Linked DNA regions of Homo sapiens: region 2 is linked to region 1. The links are contacts of gene promoters, found by promoter capture Hi-C in blood cells and fetal thymus (Javierre and others, 2016). All regions are on one chromosome and are shown on one strand. The core of a region is centred on a gene start or on the middle of the fragment in contact, and the rest is flanking DNA. Distances in the headings are between cores, read along the strand shown. Region 1 holds the start of TPMT (thiopurine S-methyltransferase). Region 2 overlaps SOX4 (SRY-box transcription factor 4).

Region 1 (5,680 bases), core at 1,644-4,143:
GTGGTGGCGGGCACCTGTAGTCCCAGCTATTCGGGAGGCTGAGGCAGGAGAATGGCATGAACCCCGCAGGCGGAGCTTGCAGTGAGCCGAGATCACACCACTGCACTCCAGCCTCGGCAACAGAGTGAGACTCCATCTCAAAAAAAAAAAAAAAAAAAAAAGGACTATCTACCTATAATTGTTATACCCAAAGAAGGCTTTTTGGACTTTATTTTCAAAAGGCTGTCCACTCTAACAAATCTCTTCATAGACACATATAAATATTAATTATTATATACATAAATATACAAATCTCTTCATTTATATATAAAATATACCTGACATTATTCATAACATGAACCACAAATATATGTAAATATATAGTATTTGTAAATGTATAGTATATGTAAGTATTATAGCAAAAATATCTGAAGTCAAATGTGTGGTTTAGGAACATAAATGAATCAGCCTAGGTTCATGCAACATTTGACCCTGTCACCTGGGAAGGTATGCATTCTCAAAAGAAAGTATAGTTTCCTGAAATTTCATCAAACATTTTAATCTAACTGAATACTAGAAAATAGGTACTTAATGCAACAAAGAATTCAAGAAATGGTTAACAAGGAAATGAAAACATGAGCTATAAAAGCCATTATTAAATCTTATCGAGGGTTTTTATGATAGCATATTTTCAACTTTATACAATTGAGGGTTATATGAATCCATTCTCAGAACTTTTGGCACTTGATGTAATTTATATATCTCCACTTGCTGGGTCCTTAGGTCTTAAAATGAAGAAAAAATTTTTAGTATACTAAAATGTCTTCCTTCTTGATTTTTCAAATTAATAAACACACCTAAATATAACCAATTGGTTTCATGCTCAACATTATACATATATTTCTAATTTTTAATTCAAGCATTTAAAATTTGGCTTTGGTTTTCTTTTAATGTGATAAAAAAGTGGGATTTTTTGGTAAATATATAAGTGGATATATCAATATGTAGATTTCATTATAATAATCCCTAGGTTTTTCTGAAGCAGCTTATTCAAAAAGATTTTTTCTTTTTTTTGAGACGGAGTCTTCCTCCGTGGCTCAGGCTGGAGTACAGTGGTGCGATCTCGGCTCACTACAACATCCACCTCCTGGGTTCAAGCGATTCTTCTGCCTCAGCCTCCCGAGTAGCTGGGATTACAGGTGTGTGCCACCACGTCCGGCTAATTTTTGTATTTTTAGTAGAGACCAGGTTTCACCACCTTGGCCAGGCTGGTCTTGAAGTACTCCTGACCTCAAGTGATCGCCCACCTCGGCCTCCCAATATTGAATAATTCAATATTGAATTATTCAATATTCAACATGCAGTTCAATGATTCAATATTAAATCCCCAATTGCCTAGATATCTTTTGTTGATTCTCCCAGCAAGGCAAATAATTATTGATGGTAATTTTCTCATGTACCTCCTGAAGAAGCCTTCTCTCCCACTCGCCTTTCTGCCACTAAAATAGATTTAAAAACACAAAACAAAACTGGTCAAAGCCTTGAGTTATGTGTGTATACGTGGTGTGGGGGATTCCCCAACTGGAGTGGACTGGGGAGTCCTGCAGGCTTACCCAAGGGAAGACTGGACTTCTATGTGGCTGGTTTCCACATCACTGAACCCCAACTTTCTACAGCTGGGTCGGCCTCTTCCTTCCTCTTTCACCTGTCAGCTGCCCGGCCGTTGACTAACAGCTACCCTAATCGGGCCACCCCTCCTCCAGGTCTCCAATCCCAGAGGAGTTACCCCAGCAACCTGGCAATGCTCATCAAGTCTCAACGCGTGGTGGCTGTGCCAGAGAATTACTACAACACCTGCAAGGCTGTGCGGGCTCCTGGCCGCACCCTATCGGCCGGGAAGAACAAGCGAGGGAGTTCCTACTCCAGGACCGTGGGGTTCTCCCGCGGCTCTGACAGTCCCCAGGAGGGAGCCCCAAACTCCCGGTGCCAGCTGCAGCCGCCTCGCTTTCCGAGAAGCTTTCGGAAGCTTTTCGAAGTCGGAGAAGCAACTGCCCCGGGGCTCACCTTTGCGCTGAAGAGGTGCCGGGAGTCTCGGGGAAAAGGCACCGCTGTACAGAAAGGAAACATTGTAGGGGGGTTAGCCGACCGGCAACATCGCGACGAACCCGGCGACCCCACGCCCCAACACCCTAGCCCGGGAATTCCCCCTTCTTCAGACAGATACCCACCCCGCACCCTCTTTTAATCCGGGGCAGGAGGTATCCGTCCCTGGGGCACCCGCCCACCTCCCACCACGGCGAGGGGCGCTGCACAGGGGGAAAGGGAGGGCTTGCACCCCAACCAAGCTGCTTTGTGCAACGCTGTCACCCGAAATCCGCCACGGCCCCCACGCACGCCCCCGGAGTGGGGAGCCTCCCACCTCTGAGCGCCAGCGAGGCGGTGCGCGCCGCCCTGGACTGCGGGCGCCTCTCCGGAGCCGCGCGCCGCGCGCACAGGACGGCTGCAGCCGCGCCGCGAGCCCCAGCCTCTTCTCGGCCGCCGCCGCCGCCGCCGCTTCCGCCCCTGTCACGGCGTGACCCGGGGTGGGAGGAGCCGACAGGACTAGGGATGGGTAGGGTCCCCGCCTTCGCTTTAGCCGCAGCGCTCGCTCCGCCCTGCCCATTTCCGCCGCTGCGCAAACCCCGGCGCTTGGGGAAGTGGGTGGAGTCTGTGCAACGAGGTACGGGGCGGGAGTGGAGACGGGGCGCCGGGAGAGGGGGCGGGAACTGAGGCGGGGCGCGGGAAAGAGGCGGGGCGCGGGAAAGAGGCGGGGCGCGGGCGGAGGCGGGGCGCGGGCGGAGGCGGGGCGCGGGCGGAGGCGGGGCGCGGAGAAGTGGCGGAGGTGGAAGCGGAGGCGTACCCGCCCCTGGGGACGTCATTGGTGGCGGAGGCAATGGCCGGCAACCAGCTGTAAGCGAGGTAGGCTCACTCGGGCGCGGAGGGTGCGGGTGAGAAAGGGAACGATTTGCTAGGAGTGTATGCGCCCGTGCTAGGGCTCCCAGGAATTCTTACAAGCGTAGACAGCCTAGCAATCAGCCCTGTGAAGTGGGGTTCAGGGCAGAAGCGGAAACTGGGAATAACGAGGTCGGACAGTAAATGACCTGAATCCAATGTCCAGGATTTAAAGTGCTTCCAAAGCACTGGTGTGTTTTAATTATTTTTTTTTCTTTTTTCTTTTAGAGACAGGGTCTCCCTCTGTCGCCCATGCTAGCGTGCAGTGGCACAATCATAGCTCACTGTAACCTGGAACTCCTGGGCTCAAGTGATCTTCCCGCCCCAGCCTCCTCGGTAACTGGGACTACAGGCTCGCTGCACCACGCTTGGCTAATTTTTCAAATTTTTTTTTATAGAAACGGACTCTCGGTTTTTTCCCCAGCCTGGTGTATTAGTGATTTTTGGGAAAAAATAAGTACTGCCAAATAGTGAGTGATCCCTGGTGATGTGGGAAACTGGGGTGCTGTAAATATTCTGTCTTGCTCTGCGGTGGTTACACAGGTGTATGTATATGTAAAAAATTCACCGAGTCATACTCTTTTAAGATGTGTGCACCTTAGGAAAGTTTCTTCTCAATTTTATGAAATTTAAAAACAAAACTATAGCAGAAGCTTTTGAAAAGGTGAGAATGGAGACTAGAACAACTTGAGGACTTTGTTTGTGGGCAGAAATTTTTGTGAAATTTCCCTTCCTTAATTCTTGTAATGTGCACTTTTTTTGTATTATAGAAATAAACTTTATTTCTCTAGAAATGATGTATACAAGTGGAGTCCATGCTGAGAAACTGTTAGAACAGCTAAGACGTTGAGCCCAGGAGTTTGAGACCAGCCTGGGTAACATAGCAAGACCCTGTCTCTACAAAATATTTAAAAATTAGCCAGGCATGGTGGTGCACCCTTATAGTCCCAGGTACTCAGGAGGTTGAAGTGAGAGGATCGCTTGAGCCCCAGTGTTGGAGACGGAAGTGTCATTACACCACTGCACTCCAGCCTGGGGGATAGAGAGAGACCCTGTCTCAAAAACAAACAACTAAGACATGATTAAGTTATGTGCATGATTTTGTTAGACAGTTCAAGTTTGTGTGAAAGGAATAGAGTTGTGCTACTCCAGGCTGCTGTGGAACTCTGATAAAGATTATGCTTCTCTTTTAAGTAGAGAACTGCTTTATGAAGCCTTGAATTTAGGTTCCAGAGTTTCTGAATGAAAATGAGAAAACTGCAACATTCTTTTGCTTTTCTGTACCCAATATAAATCAGATACTTTCTACTGACCTCTCAGAAAACTCAGAGTCACCTCCTGATACCATCAGGGTCTTGCAGAAGCCATTTGTCAACAAATATTTGCTAAGAAGTGAATTCATGTTCCCAGGTAATGAGAGAAATGCCTCCTCCCTATATCCTAAGCATACTGAGGCCAAATTTGGCAACAAAAGGGGAAATTTGCCTGAAATACATGCTTTTATGCAATGTTTGCTATTTCACAGATTAATCATTAAATTAGAACCACCAATAATAGCATGCTAGTATAATCCAAACTAGTTTCACTAATGATTTAAAGGGAATGTTAGAATAATGGTGTTATATTGTCCTTAATATTGCAGAGTTGACATTGAAAGGAAAGGCATTTTCCTCATACATTCAGATGGATCTGCAGTTATGGTCTGTCAGCTGAAGAATGAGAAGTTCATAATTTAGAAAGGAGAACTCTTTCTCATGAATGGTTTCAGACTGTAGAGCAGCCATTCTGACTGGCTGAGAAGTGTAGCCGCAGGCCAGAAGCCAGAAACTGACACTTCCAGGGAGGGGCAAAGGGAACAGGAATTTATGCTGAGGAAGGTGGCCAAATATACATATTCAGTAAGCTGTAGGATGACTCATGAATATTTATGAAAGGAGGAAAGTACCCATGAGTAATTGAGCTTCATGGGTACCATGCACAAAAAATGGCGGTGTTACCACAATCACAGGATGGAGTTTTTGGCCCTCTTATATCAAAAGGTGAAGCAGAGGACAGAAAAACCCTTACTGTGCATTCTCAGTAGACTGGCCAGAACCATTCTGTGGTCTGTGATCTCTTATCAGGCACAAAAGGAGGGGCAGCATCAGGGGGTTGGTTGATATCAGTGGTAGAATCTTTTGAAAGGGCTGGTTTCCCTTAAGTCCTTATAGAACAAAGCCTAATTGTGGTTAGCAAGAGAGGAGGTATAGAGTTGTATCTGACGCTCTATCTACTCTTGGCCCAGAACTCAGTTTTCAAGGTTACTCTGGGGTCCCGTTAGCCAAGAAAGTGTGTAGTGAGCCAAGATCGCACCACTGCACTCCAGCCTGGGCAACAAGAGCGAAACTCCATCTCAAAAAAAAAAAAAAGAAAGAAAGAAAAGGAAAGAAAGTGTGCCTTCAGTCAGTTGAGAGGCTTTGAATTTTATTGTTAGTTTACATTGTACATGTCTTTTTTCAGTTTCCTTAGTGTGCATTTCCCATGCAAAAAAAGAAGCTGTAGAAAATTATTTGAAAATACAAATGTGTGGAGTAGAGATAGGATATTGAACTATGGTTCAGTATCTACTTTAATCTGTTTTTGCTGTCTCCTGAAAATAACAGAATTTTTTTTTAAGGCATAAAGTACTAGGATAGCCAGGACAGGAGAGACAAAATTAGTAAAATTTTGG
Region 2 (5,432 bases), core at 2,515-5,014, 3.4 Mb before region 1:
TTGCAGAACGCAAATGCAATTAAAACTAAATATATGAGCACCACACATGAAAAAAATGTTGAAAACTAGTAGCTATCTTTAAGAGATAAATTATATTGAAACACAAGTTATACTGGTTTTTGGGGGTGCATTATTGCTTTTCGTTGGACAACCACAAAACCCCCTCCTGTTAGACTAGTCTTCAAAAGGTCTCTTTTTCCAGATGTACCTTCCAGGATACTACTCCCTTATCTACAAGCAATCCAAATGACTAAGGGATAATTTCCAAACACTTCTGCTTGTTAACCCCTCCTCTCCAGTGCTGAAAAACTCAAGACAAGTAAAAGACACATTTTTAATTAACATTTGGAAGATGGCTTTTGTTAGTTAATAGCAATTGTTAACTCTCAAAATAAACAGGAAATAGTGCCACTTAGCAAGTTGTATGTTCCAAACCCAAGAGTAATGGGCCTTAAGAAATCCAAGTACTTTTTCACCTTGCAGTCTCAACAATCCTTCCTGATTCTTAGAAAAAGCACAAATCTCCAGCAGCCAAAGTAAGTGCTATTTGGAGAGGGGGCTTTCCTCTGAGCCCACATGCAGCCAGCTTCTCCAGGTCATCCTTATTGCTGCAGTTCTCTTACATTAACACCATGTTGGGCATGGCAAAAAATGAAGATTGTAGCACATCAACCTTTCTGCTTGAGAAAAAAAATGCATAAATGCATACGTTTTGCATTTCATAATCGGTAAAAGCCTCCTCCTGTATAATCTACTGATAATAACAGTTTATTTGTCCTTAACCCACGAAAACCAATTACAGCCACTGCTGGAGGTAAGCATGGGCAAATCAAGGAGAAAGCAGCTCCAGGAGCACCAACTTGAAAAAAAGATCATCTAGCCAGTTTCATCTGTGAAGAATTCTGTCCACGTTGCCCCTCCCCCTCTTTCAGATTCCAAGACAAAGGGCGTTTTTAAATATGGTAAACTCAGAAAATTCCTAGAAAGCATGTGTTGAGTTGACACATATTCAGCTGATGCCATCATTTTCAGGGTCAGAGGAAATCTGGCCAAGAGACATTTAATGTTCCTCGATAAGGTAGCATTTGACAAGACTCCTCTGAGAACTTATTTTTTTAAAGCTAAGGCAGATTGTGTAGTGTCCAGATACTGTAGGGCCTTTCCAATCTTAGGCATTGGGCATAATAACGACAAAAGTCAAGATTTAGGGTTCAGTTCCAGCTGATTTTATTTCCTTCTCAAAAAAAGTTATTTACAGAAGGTATATATCAACAATCTGACAGGCAGTGAACTTGACATGATTAGCTGGCATGATTTTTTCTTTTTTTTCCCCCAAACATTGTTTTTGTGGCCTTGAATTTTAAGACAAATATTCTACACGGCATATTGCACAGGATGGATGGCAAAAAAAAGTTTAAAAACAAAAACCCTTAACGGAACTGCCTTAAAAAGGCAGACGTCCTAGTGCCTGTCATGTTATATTAAACATACATACACACAATCTTTTTGCTTATTATAATACAGACTTAAATGTACAAAGATGTTTTCCACTTTTTTCAATTTTTAAACACAACAGCTATAAACCTGAACACATATGCTATCATCATGCCATAAGACTAAAACAATTATATTTAGCGACAAGTAGAAAGGATTAAATAGTCAAATACAAGAATGAAAAACGCAGTACATAGTGTCGCGAACTCAAATCGGCATTTAGATAGATCCAGTGGTTTAAACGGCACGTTTTTGCTTATAAAAAAAGTGCAAAAAAGATGTGGTTTACAAGTTAAAGCTACAGAATCCCTTTTTGCTGTAATTGCACCAGTTTTAAAGCCTCTGGACAGAGCAGTATTTCGTTTAAAACTTTGTTTTTCTTAAAAGCTTACAGTGTTTGGCTAATTCTCCTCCCCTTTTTACAAGACGGGGGCCGGAGGGTGGACACTGGTGGCAGGTTAAGGGATACTGTCACTTTAAGAAGCCTGCAGATTGAAGTGTAAACATGGAGAAATTAGGGGCTGATTTTTTAAACTGTGTGAGATATTAACCAGCCGCCCTGTTATAAAATCAGGAAATCCAAACAGCGATTTACACCGATTAACACCCCCTTTATATATTTTTTACAAAAATACACTGAGAAAATAATCAAACGTTTTCATCTCTCTTGTCTTTTTTTGTTTTTTAAAAGTGTCAAAAGTCTACATTTAAATATAAAAAATTAAAAGTTAAAACTCTAGCCCTTCAGTGAAGGAGACGTAAAATGGCGTGGGTAACAACAACTACCAAAAAAAAAAAAAAAAAAAGAAAAAAAAAAGAAAAAAAGGAAAAGGAAGGAATAAAGAAATAAAGGAAGTAAAAAGAAAGGAAAGAAAAAAAGGGACAAAAGAAAAAATATGTTTGGCCAGTATAAATACGTCCACATATAAAATGGCATCTGATTACATTTACAAGGAAAAAGAAATACGAGGATGGAGCATCGGTGAAGGAAAAAAACACGTCTTCTCATTTACACCTATAAGGAATAAACACACACACTGAGAAAAAATTTGGTCCTGAATTGTTTTTTTAAAGTCCAGCACAGATTTGAGTTGCGTTTGAATCCTTTAAAGAGTTAAGAATGAAAAAAAGCTGGTGATAATTTCGTTGTAGGAATCAAACATAGCGCCATCTATCTGCTTTTTATATTATCCTACACTATTTTAAAAACTGCTCAACAGTCTTATACAGAAATCTTTAAAAGATAGACAGGATAACATGCTATATTAACCCCACCATTGAAATAATCCAACACCATCACGATTCCGATTAAGAGAAGAAAAAAATCTTTTTTTTTTCTTTTTTTTTCTTTTTTTCTTTTTTTTTTTCCGAAACCACTCGCCCTCCACTGACTGCCCCTGTACCACATCAAACAGTCTCCTCTCCTCCACGCCTCCGGGGTCTGGGAAGTCTCACCTCACTGATTTCACGTAGAAAAGAAGGCGGAGGCCCAGCAGCCGCCGCCGCCAGCTCCCCAACGTGCAAATCCATTTCAGTTTGACCGTGAACCCCCTTCCAGTTCGTGTCCTCCTCCGCCCCCGCCCCTAGCTCCCGCTGCTGCGCTTCCAACGGGGTTCTCGGGTCATTTCCTAGCGCCGGTCACACTGGCTGGCCTCCTCCCCTCAACATCTCCTCCTCCGGCTGCAGAGGGGGCAAGGGGAAAAGAGGGAGGAAAAAAAAGCCCCAAACGGGAATTCGCCTGCGTGGAGTCTCTCAGTCCCGGCGTTCCCCCAAAACATCTGCCATCGGCCAAATTCGTCACCCCGGAGCCTTCTGTCTTCATCACGCGTTTAAAAAAAGGGGGGGAGGGGTGCGCTGGGTTCTCCCCTCCTTTCTTGACCAAGAAGCAAAATAAAACAAAACCAAGGTGGTGATGCAGGAAGGGGGAGACTCCTTCAAGTCTCTAGAAAACTAACTCGCCTTCTTGCTGGGGGTGCAGACAAGTCCGGAAGCTCGTTGGAAGGGGGAGGGGGTCTCTTCAAGCAAAGGGGAGCAAACTCGAAGTCGCTTTTTTTTTTTTGCCATCAACAACAACATCAATAACAACAATCACAGGTCGCCCCTGTCTACCCTCTTCCTCCTCCGCGTCCCTCCGGCTGGGCAGAGTGGGTCCCCGGCCCGGGAAGGTGGGGGATGGGAGCGCGGGTCCAAAACGCCGCCGCGCTCCTTGATCCGACGACGAGAACGCGGGCGAAGCCAGCCCTGCTTACTTTTTCTTTCTTTTTTCCCTTTTCTCTTTAAACTCTTCGTCTGTCCTTTTCGTTTCTTTTTTTCACTTTTTTTTTCTCCTCTCCTACCCCCCCCGGCCCTTCTCCCTGCCTGCGCGCCCTTCAGTAGGTGAAAACCAGGTTGGAGATGCTGGACTCGAGCCAGTCTCCCGAGATCATCTCGCTCACCTCGGGCGTGCAGTAGTCCGGGAACTCGAAGTGCGAGCCGGAGCCGGGCTCGAAGTTAAAATCCAGGTCCCGGTCGAGCGCCGACGACGAACTGAAGCTGCCCAGGGACATGCTCTCAAAGTTTGAGCTGGGGTTCAGGTCGAGCAGGTCGTCTTCGAACTCGTCGTCGGAGGACGAGGAGCCCGAGGAGGAGGAAGAGGAGGAGTGGGACGAGGCCGAGGAGGACGCGTGCGAGGGCGCGCTGGACGGGGCGGGCGAGGCGGCGCGCAGGCTGGCGTAGCCGCGGTGGTCGGCGGGCGAGCGGCCGGCGGCGGGGGACGAGGCGGCGCTGCTGCGGCCGCTCAGGCTGGGCGCGTCGGGCGAGCAGCCCGCGCCCTCCTCCTCGTACAGGCCCAGGGGGTCGCTGGGGTCGGCTCCCGCGCCCACGCCGCCCACGGGCGACGACGACGTGCCCAGGCCGCCGAACAGGTAGACGCGCTTCACCTTCTTCTCCGCCAGGTGCTTGCCCGGGGCCGCGAGCGCTGCGGAGGCCGAGGCTGCCGAGGAGGCGGAGGCCGAGGCGCTGGGAGTCCGCGCCTTGTACAGCGAGTGGTGGTCGGCGGCGGCGCCCAGGGGCAGCAGGGCGGCGGCCCCCGCCTGTTCGGCGGCGAAGGAGGCGGCGGCGGCAGCCGCTGCTTTCCCGCCGCCGCCGCCGCCTGCCAGGATGAGCTTGGCGTGCGGTTTGCTAACCCCACCGCCCGCGCCGCCCGCCACTTTGGAGCCGCAGCTCTTTTTCTGCGCCGGTTTGGAGTTGGCGCCGCCGCCACTCGCACCGCCGCCTCCTCCCCCCGCGTTGCTGCTCCCGCCGCCGCCGCCGCCCCCATGGCCGCCCCCGCCACTGCCACCGACCTTGTCTCCCTTCTCCCCCGGCTTGGAGGAGGCGGCGGCCGAGGAGCTGGAGTTGGCGTTGCCGGACTTCACCTTCTTCCTGGGCCGGTACTTGTAGTCGGGGTAGTCAGCCATGTGCTTGAGGCGCAGCCGCTCCGCCTCTCGAATGAAAGGGATCTTGTCGCTGTCTTTGAGCAGCTTCCAGCGTTTGCCCAGCCGCTTGGAGATCTCGGCGTTGTGCATGTCGGGCGACTGCTCCATGATCTTGCGCCGCTCGATCTGCGACCACACCATGAAGGCGTTCATGGGTCGCTTGATGTGCCCACTCGGGGTCTTGCACCAGCTCGGGTCGTCGGCCTTGCCGCCCGTGGAGGCGGTGGAGCCGGGCGTGGGGGAGGAGGCGATTCCCAGCTCGAGGCCGGCGCCCGAGTCCGAGCTCTCGCCGGCCAGCAGCGCTTCCGTGTTCTCGGCATTGTTGGTTTGCTGCACCATGGCCTCGGCTCGGCGGGCGCCCACGCGCGCTCACACCCTCGCGGCGGCCGCCGCGCGATCGCCGGGCCCTCCCGGTTCCCCGGGCCAAGCACACGCCGAACGGGAAGACGCGCGCGGCGGCCGAACTGGCCCCTCAACTCCTCG

The links. Contacts are between HindIII fragments. The CHiCAGO score rates a contact against its expected background, and 5 or more counts as called.
Region 2: a fragment that was not itself captured here is called in contact with the fragment with the promoter of TPMT in region 1 in 1 of 17 cell types (naive CD8 T cells); the score reaches 5.4 in naive CD8 T cells.

The regions. Positions count from the first base shown.
Region 1 is chr6:18,152,290-18,157,969 of GRCh38, reverse strand. It overlaps TPMT (thiopurine S-methyltransferase), which reads left to right and starts at 2,893. Exons shown (of 9, transcript NM_000367.5): 1 at 2,893-2,937. It overlaps KDM1B (lysine demethylase 1B), which reads right to left and starts at 2,548. Exons shown (of 22, transcript NM_001364614.2): 1 at 2,399-2,548; 2 at 2,044-2,087. RefSeq lists an enhancer at 1,608-1,847 and a silencer at 2,288-2,847. The HindIII fragment of the contact is 1,618 bases long and covers 2,008-3,625 here.
Region 2 is chr6:21,594,391-21,599,822 of GRCh38, reverse strand. SOX4 (SRY-box transcription factor 4) reads right to left here. Exons shown (of 1, transcript NM_003107.3): 1 at 1,204-5,432. The coding sequence starts at 5,288. The coding sequence ends at 3,864. Among named protein-coding and RNA genes, the nearest start is that of SOX4, 3.4 kb to the right of the region's middle. RefSeq lists an enhancer at 3,312-3,511 and silencers at 4,322-4,371, 4,422-4,511, 5,282-5,432. The HindIII fragment of the contact is 3,762 bases long and covers 1,884-5,432 here.